2 separate regions of the Homo sapiens genome follow, and region 1 is linked to region 2. Evidence: promoter capture Hi-C in human tissues and cell types (Jung and others, 2019). All regions are on one chromosome and are shown on one strand. Each heading gives the region's core, a stretch centred on a gene start or on the middle of the fragment in contact. The rest is flanking DNA. Distances are from core to core; before and after follow the strand shown. Region 1 overlaps ZNF813 (zinc finger protein 813). Region 2 holds the start of DPRX (divergent-paired related homeobox).

Region 1 (6,592 bases), core at 3,137-5,636, 140 kb after region 2:
TTTCTTGTCAGGTGGGACGAGAGACTGAGAAAATAAATAAGAGACGGAGACAAAGTATAGAGAAAGAACAGTGGGCCCAGTGGACCGGCGCTCAGCATATGGAGCACCCGCCAGCACTGGTCTCTGAGTTCCCTCAGTATTGATCATTATCTCTACCATCTGGGAGAGGGGATGTGGCAGGACAATAGGGTAATAGTGGGGAGAAGGTCAGCAGGAAAACATGTGAGCAAAGGTCTCTGTGTCATAAATAAGTTTAAGGAAAGGTGCTGTGCCTTCATGTGTACGCACACAAACATCTCGGTGTAATAGAGAGCAGCATTGCTGCCAGCATGTCTCACCTCCAGCCCTAAGGCGGTTTTCTCCTATCTCAGTAAATATAATATACAATTGGGTTTTACACCAAGACAGTCTATTCCCAGGAGGAGCAGGAGACAGATGCCTTCCTCTTATCTCAACTGCAAAGAGTCCTTCCTCTTTCACTAATCCTCCTCAGCACAGACCCTTTACGGGTGTCAGGCTGGGGGATGGTCAGGTCTTTCCCTTCCCACGAGGCCATATCTCAGGCTATCACATGGGGAGAAACCTTGGACAATACCTGGCTTTTCTGGGCAGAGGTCCCTGCGGCCTTCTGCAGTGTTTGTGTCCCTGGATACTTGAGTTTAGAGAATGGTGATGACTTTTACCAAGCATACTGCCTTCAAGCACTTTTTAACAAAGCACATCCTGCACAGCCCTAAATCCATTAAATCTTGAGTCAACACAGCACACGTCTCTGCCAGCACAGGGTTGGGGCTAGGGTTACAGATTCACAGCATCTCAAGGCAGAAGAATTTCTCTTAGTACAGAACAAAATGGAGTCTCTTATGTCTACTTCTTTCTACATAGACACAGTAACAGTCTGATCTCTCTTTCTTTTCCCCACAAGTGATGTTTTCATACCAGTTGCAACAGATCTACGCATTTTTTAAAATGCCACATCAGATTCCATGGTGACTGTGAATAAACCATGTCATTGCAACACTCCCTGTTTACACATTGACAGAGCTGAGTGTGTCCGTCTGTGCCCTGCCAGAGCACACATCATACCATGTGGATCACGCTGATTGAGCGCCTGCGGTGACCTGTGTGGTCCTTGGATAGAGGATTATTGGACCATGGCGACTGCACATTCTCCCCAAGACAGACAACTGATAACAGACCTTAGAATAGCCATAAAATGCCACATCCCGACAAATGCGCACCCAGGTAACTCCACCCAGTACTGCCTTCTCTAGGCCCCTGTCATCCCGTAGAAGGCCAGACAAGAATGGGATTTGCAAGAATGTCTAAGGTAGTTTTCACTGGGAGCCCGCAGTTTGTGGAGGGAAATGGGAACTGCTTTATATGGGCTTTTCCCCAGGGTGTGTGTGTGTGTGTGTGTGTGTGTGTGTGTGTGTGTGTGTGTGTGGTGGGGAGGGTCAGTCCATCCTACATCCCCACTGCTGTAGGAAAATGTGGGGGCATCTCTGGGAAGGCACCTGAGGACCGAGTAGAAACTCATATTTTGTTCTCCACGTAGGAACTTATCATACCTGAGTCTCTTCTGTGGCAAAGGATTATTATAACATATGATGTTTGCTGGAAGTTTTTTTTTTTTGAGAGGGAGTCTCACTCTGTCACCCAGGCTGGAGTGCAATGGCGCAATCTCGGCTCACTGCAACCTCTGCCTCCTGGGTTCAAGCAATTCTCCTGCCTCAGCCTCTCAAGTAGCTGGGATTACAGGCGCGCACCACCGCACCCCGCTAATTTTTGTATTTTTAGTAGAGACAGGGTATCTCCATGTTCGTCAGGCTAGTCTCAAAGTCCCAACCTCAAGTGATCCACCCGCCTCGGCCTCCAAAAGTGCTGGGATTACAGGCATGAGCCACCGTGCATGGCCTCTACGTAGCTTTATTTTAGTCTTTGTGGCTATCTCATTTAGGAATAAAATGGGAGGCAGGTTTGTCTGATGCAGTTCTCAGGTTGACTTTTCTCTTTGGCTTAGTAATTTTTATTTTCCTTTCACGAGCTTGTGACAGACATAATGCTTTGACACACTGATATTGCTTAATATAGATTTTTCCATAACAGTAAAGTCCAAGGGTCTCTCATGAATTGGGTTAGGGGAGATGAGAACATTCCCAGGAGACTCCTGGTCTCAAGCAATCCTCCCATCTCAGCCTCCCAAAGTGCGAGGACCACAGGTGTGATCAGCTGACCCAGTGGAGTCTTGATCTCAAAAAAAAAAAAAAAAAAAAAAGCAAAACAGAAATTAAGGTACTCTATGCAATTACATCATTTGCCTTTTTTATTTTGAAATGAAAAGTCTCACATATTTATTACTGAACCCACCCAACTGACGTGTTCATAGCAGATTCAGAGAAAAAACATATTCCCAATAAAACATTTCCAACACTCCAGATAGTGGTGACATTTTCAGCTTGATATGGTAACGCGATTGTAATGCTCACACAGCATAAATATGTGTGCCATCTCACGTGCAATTCCTTATAGACCCCGCTTCGTTCTTCTCCAATGTCTCCTTTTGGAGTCGTACCTGATTTTATTACCAGTTTTGATCTGAATCCACTGGGGGAATGGAATGATTTTGCTTTTGTTTCTTGGCCAGGTATTGCTTAAATCTGAAAGTCCTGTGAGATCTGGCGAGAAGGGGAGTCAAGTACACACCACGAGAGGAGACAGGAAGAGAAGGGGCTTGACATATTTTATTTTTTATTTATTTATTTTTTTTTGAGACAAAGTTTTGCTCTTATTGCCCCCATCTTGGCTCACTGCAACCTCCGCCCCCCAGGTTAAAGCGATAATGCAGCCTCAGCCTCCTGAGTAACTGGGATTACAAGCACCCGCCACCACACCCAGCTAATTTTTGTATTTTTAGTAGAGACGGGGTTTCACCATGTTAATCAGCCTGTTCTCAAACTCCTGACTATTGTTTCTGCTGTTACCTGTCAGTCCTCTTCATTGTGGCACAAACAAGATAAATTTTTTTGTAAAACTGATGTGCAAGGGGCATGGTGGCTCATGCCTGTAATCTCCACACTTTGGGAGGCTGAGGTGGGCAGATCGTGAGGTCAGGAGTTCAAGACCAGCCTTGCCAACATGGTGAAACCCCGTCTTACTAAAAATACAAAAATTAGCTGATGTGGTGGCACGCGCCTGTAGTCCCAGCTACTAAGGAGGCAGAGACAGGAGAATCACTTGAACCCGGGAGGCAGAGGTTGCAGTGAGCCGAGATTGCACCACTGCATTCCAGCCTGGGAGACAGAGCGAGACACCATCTCAAAAAAACAACAACAACAAAAACAAACAAAAAAACTGATGTGGATGGTGTGCCTGCCACTCCATGCATCACCTTCAACATTGTCTTGTCCCAACTCAAACTAAGTTATCCATTTACAAACTGTTTATTTCTTCTGGGCATCATCTCCATAATCTTTTCATAAAGCATCAATGATTTCATTATTCCTCTACCCAAACTTTACAAGAAGTATTTTTTTTTTTGAGCCAGTATCTCGCTCCATCACCCATGCTGGAATGCAGTGGCATGATCATAGCTCACTGCAGCCTCAACCTCCCAGGCTCGAGCTATCCTCCTACCACAGACTCCACAGCAGCTGGCCCTGCATGCATGTGCTACCGTGCCCAGCTAATTTTTGTATTTTTTGTAGACAAGGGGGTTTCACCATGTTGCCCAGGCTTGTCTTGAATACCTGGGCTTACATGACCCACCTGTCTTGGCCTCTGAAAGTGCTGGGATTACAGGCCTGAGCCACTGCATCTGGTCTCACTGTAAATTTGATGCTCCTTTTTGTTTCAATTTTAGCAGGATTTATATTGCTTTGATAGAGTCTCTTTTCTTTTCTTTTCTTTTTTTTTTTTTTGAGACAGAGTTTCGCTCTTGTTGACCAGGCTGGAGTGCAATGGTGCAATCTCGGCTCACAGCAATCTCTGCCTCCCGGGTTCAAGCCATTCTCCTGCCTCAGCCTCCAGAGTATCTGGGATTACAGGCATTTGCCACCATGCCTGGCTAATTTTGTATTTTTAGTAGAGATGCTGTTTCTCCATGTTGGTGAGGCTGGTCTCGAACTCTGGATCTCAGGTGATCCACCCACCTTGGCCTCCCAAAGTGTTGGGATTACAGGCATGAGCCACTGCGCCCGGCAGAGAAAGTCTCTTTTAAAACTCATGTCTTATCCTTCTGGGTGCCTCAAACTAGGACCTGTTCAGACATAACAGATTCGTACCAGTTTATTTTGGTGCAAAAACTGGGAAATTCATACACAATTTTCTCATAATATGCAAAATATGTATTTTTCCATGAACTTCTTGAAGACCCCTTGTACTAAAAAGCTGTATTCAAGAGGATGTAAAAAGGACTGTAGATACTCAAGTGCCACTTATTTCTGGGATGCAAGGATGGTTCAACATAGTCAAGCAAATCAATGTGATATGCCACTTGAACAGAATGAAAGATGAAAACCACATCATCTCAATAGATGGAGAAAAAGTATTTCACAAAATTCAAAATCCACTCATCATAGAAATTCTGAACAAAATAGACAGAAAAGGAAATTTACCTCAACAATAGAAAGGCCATCCATGAAATGACCAACGAGTAGATAACGAAGCAGGGAACATGGAATGATTTTCCTGTAGGATCTCACATGATGGAAGAATGCTCTCACCCCTTCTATTCAATAAATACTGGCTGTCCTAGCCAGAGCAATGAAATAGCAAAAGAAATCAAACCCATCCAAATCAGAAAGAAAGAAGTAAAATTATATGTGTTTGTAGATGACATGATCTTCTGTGTAGAAAATCACAAAGACTCAACCAAAATACTACTGGAAGTAATAAACAGATTCAGTGTATCTGCACAGTACAATATCAGCACCAAAAATTAGCTGAATTTCCATACATTAACAATAAACAATTTTAAAAGAAAATTTAAAAACACTTCCATTTGCTAGAGAACTTAAAGTAAGAAATACTTAGGAATAAAAGCAAAAAGATGAGAAGTTTGTAACAATAAACAATTTTAAAAGAAAATTTAAAAACACTTCCATTTGCTAGAGAACTTAAAGAAATAGAAATAAAAGTAAAAAGGTGAGAAGTTTGTACCTTGAAATCTACAAATATACATCAATATGATTAAAAACATATACAGACATATAACCCATATTGATGGATTGGAAAAATTAATATTGTTAAATGATTATATAACCCAATGTGATTTAGATTCAACACGGTACCCATAAAAATCCCTATCAGTTTTTGTTAAAGAACAAAAAGCAAACTGGGAAAAGTGGCTCATGTTTGTTGGCCAGACTGATCTGAAACTCCTGACCTCAAGTGATCTACCCGCCTTGGCCTCCCAAAGTGCTGGGATTACAGGTGTGAGACACTGTACCTGGCCCAATCCTCTTAACATAAACACTTTAATGTCAATTACTGCTTGATGGTTTGCTCTACTCATTGCATTTGGAACAATTATCTCAAAATGAATTTTCTGATATTCTGCAAGGAGTGAAGTCAGACTGAAAACCTTGCCACACTGATGACATTTGTAAGATTTCCGTCCAGTGTGCATTCTCTGATGTCTAAGGAGGTGTGAACGTGAAGTAAAGGCTTTGCCACAATCATCACACGTGAGGTTTCTCTCCTGTATGAATTCTCCTATGTTTTGCATAGGATGAAGCTTGACTGAAGACCTTGCCTCAATCATGACATTTATAAGGTTTGTCTCCAGTATGAGTTCGCCAATGAACTGCAAGGTATGGACGATGTCTGAAAAATTTGCCGATTATTACACTTGTATGATCTCTCTTCCTTATGGGTTCTCCAATGATTTGCAATGGTTGTAGCGTTACTGAAGACTTGGTGACAATCATTACATTAGTCAAGTTTCCTTCACCATGGATTGCCTGATGGTGAGTAAGTGTTGACTGCTCATTAAGGCTTTGCCAGACTCATTACACTTGTAAGGTTTCTCTCCAGTATAAATTCTAGGATGTTGTGCCAGGTGTGAGTCATGCCCGAAAGCCTTGTCACGAACTCTTACAATTTTATGGTTTCTCTGCAGTATGATTTATTTTATGTCTTTCAAGGTTTGACTTGTGACTGAAAACTCTGTGATATTCTTCACCTTTGTAAGCTTTCTCTCCAGTATGAATTCTCCTGTCTTTTGAGGCTCGATTTGCCACTGTAAACTTTGTCACATGCTTCACATTTCTAAGGTTTCTCTCCACTATGAAGTCTATGATGACGTGGAAGGTGTGCTTGTTGATTAAAAATTTTGCAACGTTCATTACACTTGTTTCTCTCCAGTATGAATTCTTATGAATTACAAGGACTGAATTGTGACAGAAGGTCTTGCCACACTCATTGCACTTGTTTCTTTCCAGTATGAATTGTATGATGATGTGCAAGCTTTGCTTTTCAATTAAAAGCTTTGCCACACTCATTAAACTTGTAAGGTTTCTCTCCAGTATGAAGTCTATGATGACGTGCAAGGTTTGCTTTTTGATTAAAAACCTTGCCACATTCATTACAC
Region 2 (7,519 bases), core at 4,304-6,803:
ACGCCCGGCTAATTTTTGTACTTTTAGTAGAGATGGGCTTCGCCATGCTGGCCAGGCTGGTCCCAAACTCCTGACCTCAGGTGATCCGCCTGCCTTGGCCTCCCAACGTGCTGGGATTAGAGGCATGAGCCACCGCACCCTGCTAGGATGAGGCGTATGACGAGGGGCCCGGAGCTTCCATGCCCTCCCCGGATATGCCACCCTCCAGGTACGTCCGCATGCTTAGCTGTCAGGGATCTCTTCAAACCCTGTCCTCCTGGGTTTTGATGGATGCTTCCTTACCCAGACATGACTGATGAAACCACTGGCCAATGGTGATCAGCCTCACCCTCAGCTTCCTTCCCCTCCCAGAAGTTTGCCCTCTAATCCTACTGGGGTCTTTCCAGAGACCAGTCCCCATCCTGAAGCTATCGGTCAACATTAGCACACAAAATACAAAAAGATGGCACTTTGGAGACTCCATGGAACTCTGGAGCTGCTTTCCAGGAAACAGGCACGAAGACCAAACGCAAATGTCACAGTACCACACACACATCATTACAACATGTGACTTTTTGTATTTATCATCTCTCTCGACTTTGGTTAGATGAACAGGCAGGAGAGCCAGAATGGAAGCTTGGAGCGCAAACTTGGGATTCCAAAATGGGGTAGAGGCAGTATATATTAGGATCTCGGCAGCAGCCAAAATGGACTATTCTGTGGCCAATGAAGTCATTTGCAGGGACCTTGAGGTTGGGGTACAGGATGAGCTGGAATGAGGGGACTCGATGACCCGTGTACACCAGGCCGATCGGGTGAGCAGCGTTGGGCAATCTGGGTAGTGTGTCTGCATTTCTCAGGCCGACACTGGTGGAGACCCCACCCTCTGGTATTGGCGGTTGTGGAGTTTCTTGTTTTTGATGAATATGCTTGCATTTCGCTTTCTTGAGTTTTGCTCTGTGATTCTTGAACCAGACCTGAAGGGAAGAGAGAGAAGAGAATGGGGTGGAATTCAGATGACTTGTCATTCTATTTTTAAAAAATTTTTACTTTTTAATTTTTATTTTGTTAAACGTATTTTATTTATTTATATTCTTTTTTTTAACCTTTAAGTTTTTAACTTTTCTTTTTTTTTCCTTTTTTTGGCCCTTAAACTCTCCTAATATTTATTTATTTATTTATTTTTATTTTATTTTATTTTATTTTTGAGATGGAGTCTCACCTTGTCGCCCAGGCTGGAGTTCAGTGGCACCATCTCGGCTCACTGCAACCTCCGCCTCCCAGGTTCAAGCGATGCTTCTGCCTCAGCCTCCTGAGTAGCGGGGACTACAGGCTCACACCACTATGCCTGGCTAATTTTTGTATTTTTAGTACAGACAGGGTTTCACCATATTGGCCAGGCTGGTCTCGAACTCCTGACCTCATGATCCGCCCACCTCGGCCTCCCAAACTGCTGGGATTACAGGCATGAGCCACCATACCCAACCCAAGTTTTCCTTTTAGTTGATAATATGAGTACTTCTAGGTGAGAACAGCTAGTGCCACAGCTTGGCCACTTACATCCTCTTTGTGGAACCCTACTCAATCTACTCCCAGGAAGGAGCAGAAATGAGAGATTTTGGGGACAGAAATTGAGACAGGGGTCAGAAAACCCAGAGCAGGGGATAGGAGAGCAAGGGGATCAGTCGCAGGGGCTGCTCTGGGGCTCAGGCCAGCCAGCTAAGGCTGGTGGCCAAATCTGACCACCCCCTGTCTTTGTATCACCCATGCACTAAGAATAGGCTTTACGTTTTAAAATGGTTGAGAAAAAACAAACACAATAAGAGTACTATTTTGTGTTGTATGTGTGTTGGGACTGAAAGAAAAAAGAGAGAAAATAAAAGAATACTACTGGCCAGGCACAGTGGCTCATGCCTATAATCCCAGGACTCTGGGAGGCTGAGGTGGGTGGATCACTTGATTTCAGGAGTTTGAGTCCAGCCTGGGCAACATGACGAAACCCCATCTCTACAAAAAACACACAAATTGGCTGGGCCTGGTGGTACACACCAGTAGTATCAGCTGCTCGGGAGGCTGTAGTACCACACACCTGTAGTCCCACCTACTTGGGAATCTGAGTGGGAGGATGGCTTCAGCCCAGGAATTCAAAGCTGCAGTGAGCTATGATCGTGCCACTGCACTCCAATGTGGGCAAGAGCAACACCCTGTCTTAAAACAAAACAAAACAACACTATTTTGTAATGTGAAAATTGTATAAACTTCAGGCCAGGCGCAGTGGCTTATGCCTATAATCCTGACACTTTGGGAGGCCAAGGCAGGTGAATCACTTGAGACCAGGAGTTCAAGATCAGCCTCCTGGGCAATATAGCGAAACCCCATCTCTACAAAAAATAAAATACAGCCGGGCTCATGCTTGTAATCCCAACACTTTGGGAGGCGTAGTGTGCACCTGTAGACCTGTAGTCCCAGCTACTTGGGGTGCTGAGGTGGTAGGATTGCTTGAGCCCGGGAGGTCGAGGCTGCAGTGAGCTGTGATTGCACCACCGTGCTCCAACCTGAGTAAAAGAGTTTCTGGGAACACAGATGGGCCTCTTGTTTACGTTGTCTGTGGCTGCCTTCGCACTGTGGTGGCATAGTTAAAATAGTTGCTAGAGAGACGGTATGGCCCACAAAGCTTCAATTATTTACTACCTGGTCCTTTACTGGAAAAATTTTCCCATTCTTGCTCTAGGGGGTTGAAGAAAGGTTTACGGGGACGTGAGTAGGAGAGTGTGGGTTTGGGGAATATTGGCGATTGGAATGAGACCTCAGGAATTATCCTAGAGGGACTCTGAATTTAGATTAGATCAGGAAGGCAGTTTAGTGAGAAGAGGGATCATTTTCCAACCTGCAGTACTGTTGGGTGTATGTCTATTTTCGAGGCCATTTCTTTCTGAAGGCTGGGGTTTGGGTATGGGTTCTCATTGAACAAGATGTTCAGATCTTCCAGTTGCTTCTTAGTGAACATGGTTCGTTTCCTGTGTGAATGCATCTGGTCCTTGCCTTGAAAGAGGAGGAAAAAGACACAAATGGGAAATGCTAACAACTCCATTCTCAAAAGCCTGAGCTTTCCTTTCCTTTCCACTGAGGTACAACGTGATGATCAAGTGACTGAGGTTCTGTCACCGAGGCTGGAGTGCAGTGGCACAATCTCAGCTCACTGCAACCTCCACCTCCTGAGTTCAAGCGATTCTCCTGCCTCAGCCTCCCGAGTAGCTGGGATTACAGGCGCACGCCACCATGCCCGGATAATTTTTGTATTTCTAGCAGAGACAGGGTTTCACCATGTTGGCTAGGCTGGTCTCGAACTCCTGACCTCAGGTGATCCACCCGCCTCGGCCTCCCAAAGTGTTGGGATTACATGCGTGAGCCACTGTGCCCGGCCGTGACTGAGGTTCTTAGATATGGAGACACTGCTGGCCGGGGTCGTGCCTCAGGCTGCAGTCCCAGTACTGTGGGAGGCTGAAGCGGGAGGACAACTTGATCTGCCTTTTGTCCTTGTTTTTCCAAGCCTCATTTGTCATTTTCATAGGAAAAGGTTGTTCCTTTCCCCCTTGGTTCCTCCATCCTTTTTTTCTGTTATCATTTAAATATGGGATCCCTTGCTCACGCCTGTAATCCCAGCACTTTGGGAGGCCAGGGCGGGCAGATCATATCAGGTCATGAGTTTGAGACCAGCCTGGCCAGCATGGTGAAACCCCATCTCTATTAAAAACACAAAAATTTGGCCGGGCACAGTGGCTCATGCCTGTAATCCCAGCACTTTGGGAGGCCAAGGCGGGCGGATCATGAGGTCAAGAGATCAAGACCATTCTGGCTAACATGGTGAAACCCTGTCTCTACTAAAAGTACAAAAATTAGCTGGGCGTGATGGTGCACGCCTGTAGTCCCAGCTACTCGGGAGGCTGAGGCAGGAGAATCGCTTGAACCTCAGAGGCAGAGGCTGTGGTGAGCCGAGATTATGCCACTGCACTCCAGCCTGAGACAGAGGGAGACCCTGTCTCAAGAAAATAATAAATAAATAAATAAATAAATACGTAAATAAGGGATCGCTTGTGCCTTACCTCTTGGGTTCTATTTTCTTTGTGTAGAAATAGGCAACTCAATCCAAGGTGAAATGGATGGACATGGTTTTATTCTTATCATTTATTCAATGTTCATTAAGTATATTCTTTTAGGAATATAGCAAGGAAATAAGCAGAAAAATAACATCACTGCTGTCACGGATGTCACCTTTTACTTTCTTTTTCTTGAGACAGTGTACTGCTGTGTTGCCCAGTGGCATGATCACAGCTCACTTCAGCCTCAACCTCCCCAGGCTCAAGCGATCCTCTCACCTCAGCCTCCCGAGTAGCTGGAACTACACAACACTGACATGCCCGGCTAATTTTTGTATTTTTTGTAGAGACAACGTCTTGTTTTGTTGCCCAGGCTGGTCTTGAACTCCTGGGCTGAAGCGATCTGCCCACCTCGGCCTCCCAAAGTGCTGGGATTACAGGCATGAGCCACCGCATGCCTCGCTCTAAAAGATCTGAATCGCATCATGCCTGAAAATGGTTTGGCAGCAGCTCCAGAGTCTAGTAAGTGCTCATGAACATGAGATTTCCAGCTTGGCTAAGCCTATATTCTATCTAGGACCTAATCATCCTCATAGGAATCAGATTCCCCTGTGCTCAAGAACAAGCATCGGGGTGGGAAGAATTAGGACACAACTACGAGGGAGAAGATTTCGGATTTGAAGGCAGAAACAGGCTTCCCTGCATTTGCCTGTGCTGTCAGATGACAGCCGCGGCCGGGCACCGAGGCTCATGCCTGTAATCCCAGCACTTTGGGAGGCCGAGGCCAGCCAATCACATGAGGTCAGGGGCTTGAGACCAACCTAGCTAACATGGTGAAACCCCATCTCTATAAAGATACAAAACTTGGGCCGGGTGCAGTGGCTCACGCCTGTCACCCCAGCACTTTGGGAGGCTGAGCCAGACGGATCACAAGGTCAGGAGTTCGAGACCAGCCTGGTCAATATGGTGAAACCCCCGGCTCTACTAAAAATACAAAAAAAAAAAAAATTAGCCAGGTGTGGTGGCGTGTGCCTGTCATCCCAGCTACTCGGGAGGCTGAGGCAGGAGAATTGCTTGAACCTGGGAGGTGGAGGTTGCAGTGAGCCGAAATCGTGCCACTGCACTCCAGCCTGAGCGACAGAGTGAGACTGTCTCAAAAGACAAACAAAACAAAACAAAACAACAACAACAAAAACGATGACAGCCTCTGTGGGAAGTCCCTGCCACCCACGTGGACGAAGCACCAGCTTCGGCCGCCTGGTCCCTCTGCCTTTTCCCGCCGCCAGCTGCTTTCCACTTCTTCACGTGTCTTTGCTTCGGTTCTCATTTTTTCTGGCTTACCTTTACGAAGATCCTCTGAGCCTGGCATCTTCTAATCCAGATGTGCGCCTGGGTTCAGGTCCAGGGATAAGAACTAGCAAAGATCAAATCCGGATTTAAGTAGCTTCCTCCACAGCCACACCCGACTCCCACCTCCTCCACCTTTCTCTGCCCTATCTGCCTCCAATATGATCCCTCGGTCCTCCAGAGCCCCCTGGATTTCTCCCAATACTGTCATTTTATCTAATATTGATTGAGCGGAGACCAACGACTCAAAGGCGAGTCCACAAACCAGCCCCACTAACACTCCTGGGAGTTGTTAAAATGCAGAATCCTGGCCCACTCCAGACTTCCTGAGCAGAAGCTGCAATTTCTTTTCTTTTTTTCTTTTTCTTTGAGACAGAGTCCCACTCTGTCACCCAGGCTGGAGCGCAATGACACCATCTTGGCTCACTGCAGCCTCTGCCTCCCAGGTTCAAGGGATTCTCATGTCTCAGCCTCCCGAGTAGCTGAGATCACAGGCCTGTGCCACCACTCCTGACTAATTTTTGTATTTTTAGTAGAGACGGAGTTTCCGCCATGTTGGCCAGGCTGGTCTTGAACTCCTGCCCTCAACGTTTCTGACTCGGTCTGGGGTGGGATCTGATGATTTCCATATCTAACAAGCACCCAGGTGACCAGGCTCCGTAATGGGGACCGGGAATGTGATTGTGAATAATGAAGTCCAGGTTTAAACCCTAAAGGGGCTTTCAGGCAACTTATATATTCTTTAGTGGCTAATATATGCTTGGCATTGTTCTGCATATCCTGATTTAGTTAACTCACTCAGAAATCATCTCATTTTATTTATTTATTTATTTATTTAGAGATGGAGTCTCACTCTGTCACCCAGGCTGGAGTGCAGTGGCACGATCTCGGCTCACAGCAACCTCCGCCTCTCAGGTTCAAGCAATTCTCCTGCCTCAGCCTTCCCAGTAGCTGGGATTACAGGCACCCACCACCAAGCCTGGCTAATTACAGGTGGCTCACACCTGTAATCCCAGCACTTTGGGAGGCTGAGGCAGGCGGATCACCTGAGGTCAGGAGTTCGAGACCAGCCTGGCCAACATGGCGAAACCCCATCTCTACTAAAAATACGAAAATTAGCTGGGTGTGGTGGTGGGCACCTGTAATCCCAGCTACTCAGGAGGCTGAGGCAGGAGAATTGCTTGAACCCAGGAGGCAGAGGTTGCAGTGAGCTGAGATCGCACCACTGCACTCCAGCCTGGGTGACAGGAGTGAGACTCCATCTCAAAAAAATAAAAGAAAAAGCTGCAACACCTTTCAGATGCCCAGGCTCACACCATGTATACCTTTTATCTTGACGACAAGGGCAGTTTGACTTCAGGTTCACAGAAGTGGCAGTTTTTCTTGCCATTCCATCCATTTGAATCTCAGTTCTGCACATCTCTACTTGTGACAGTGGTTAGCCTTTGCATAAATGAGCTTGTAGCTACTTTTTTTTTTCTTTTTGAGACAGGGTCTTGCTATGTCTCAAAAAACACAGCTGACTGCAGCCTCGACCTACTGGGCTCAAGTGATCCTCCTACATTTGCCCCCAAGTAGCTGTGACTACAAAGGCCTAGGCCCAGCCTGGAGTGCAGTGGCAAAATCATAGCTCAATGCAGCCTTAACCTCCTGGGCCTAGGTGAGCCTCTCACCTAAGCCTCCTGAGTAACTGGGACTACAGGTGCACACTACCATACCCAGCTAATTTTTGCATTTTTTGTAGAGAAGGGATTTTGGCTAGGCTAGTCTCAAAGTCTTAGGCACAAGCCATCCTCCCACCTCAGCCTCCCAAAGTGCTGGGATTAGTAAGAGGCAGTCTGTGTTGCTCAGGCTGGAGGGCAATTCACAAGCTGATTCCACTACTGATCAGCATGAAAGTTTTTTTTTTTTTTTTTGAGATGGAGTCTCACTCTGTCGCCCAGGTTAGAGTGCAGTGGCGTGATCCCGGCTCACTGCAACCTCTGCCTCCTGGGTTCAAGCAACTCTCCTGCCTCAGCCTCCCAAATAGCTGGGATTATAGGCACATGCCACCATGCCCAGCTAATTTTTTTTTTTGTATTTTTAGTAGAGACAGG

What was found. The method cuts DNA at HindIII sites, captures the fragments that hold promoters and counts their contacts. A contact is called where the count stands out against the background at its distance.
Region 1: a contact is called between a fragment that was not itself captured here and the fragment with the promoter of DPRX in region 2, in 2 of the 25 tissues and cell types used here (adrenal gland and mesenchymal stem cells).

The regions. Positions count from the first base shown.
Region 1 is chr19:53,491,972-53,498,563 of GRCh38, reverse strand. It overlaps ZNF813 (zinc finger protein 813), which reads right to left. Exons shown (of 4, transcript NM_001004301.4): 4 at 2,309-6,592. The coding sequence ends at 6,478. It also overlaps the pseudogene RPL39P37. Among named protein-coding and RNA genes, the nearest start is that of ZNF813, 28 kb to the right of the region's middle. RefSeq lists an enhancer at 5,282-6,481. The HindIII fragment of the contact is 8,734 bases long and covers 20-6,592 here.
Region 2 is chr19:53,630,033-53,637,551 of GRCh38, reverse strand. DPRX (divergent-paired related homeobox) reads right to left here and starts at 5,553. Exons shown (of 3, transcript NM_001012728.2): 1 at 5,418-5,553; 2 at 2,867-3,021; 3 at 538-956. The coding sequence starts at 5,445. The coding sequence ends at 564. It also overlaps the pseudogene RN7SL317P. RefSeq lists an enhancer at 78-578. The HindIII fragment of the contact is 20,441 bases long and covers 1,635-7,519 here.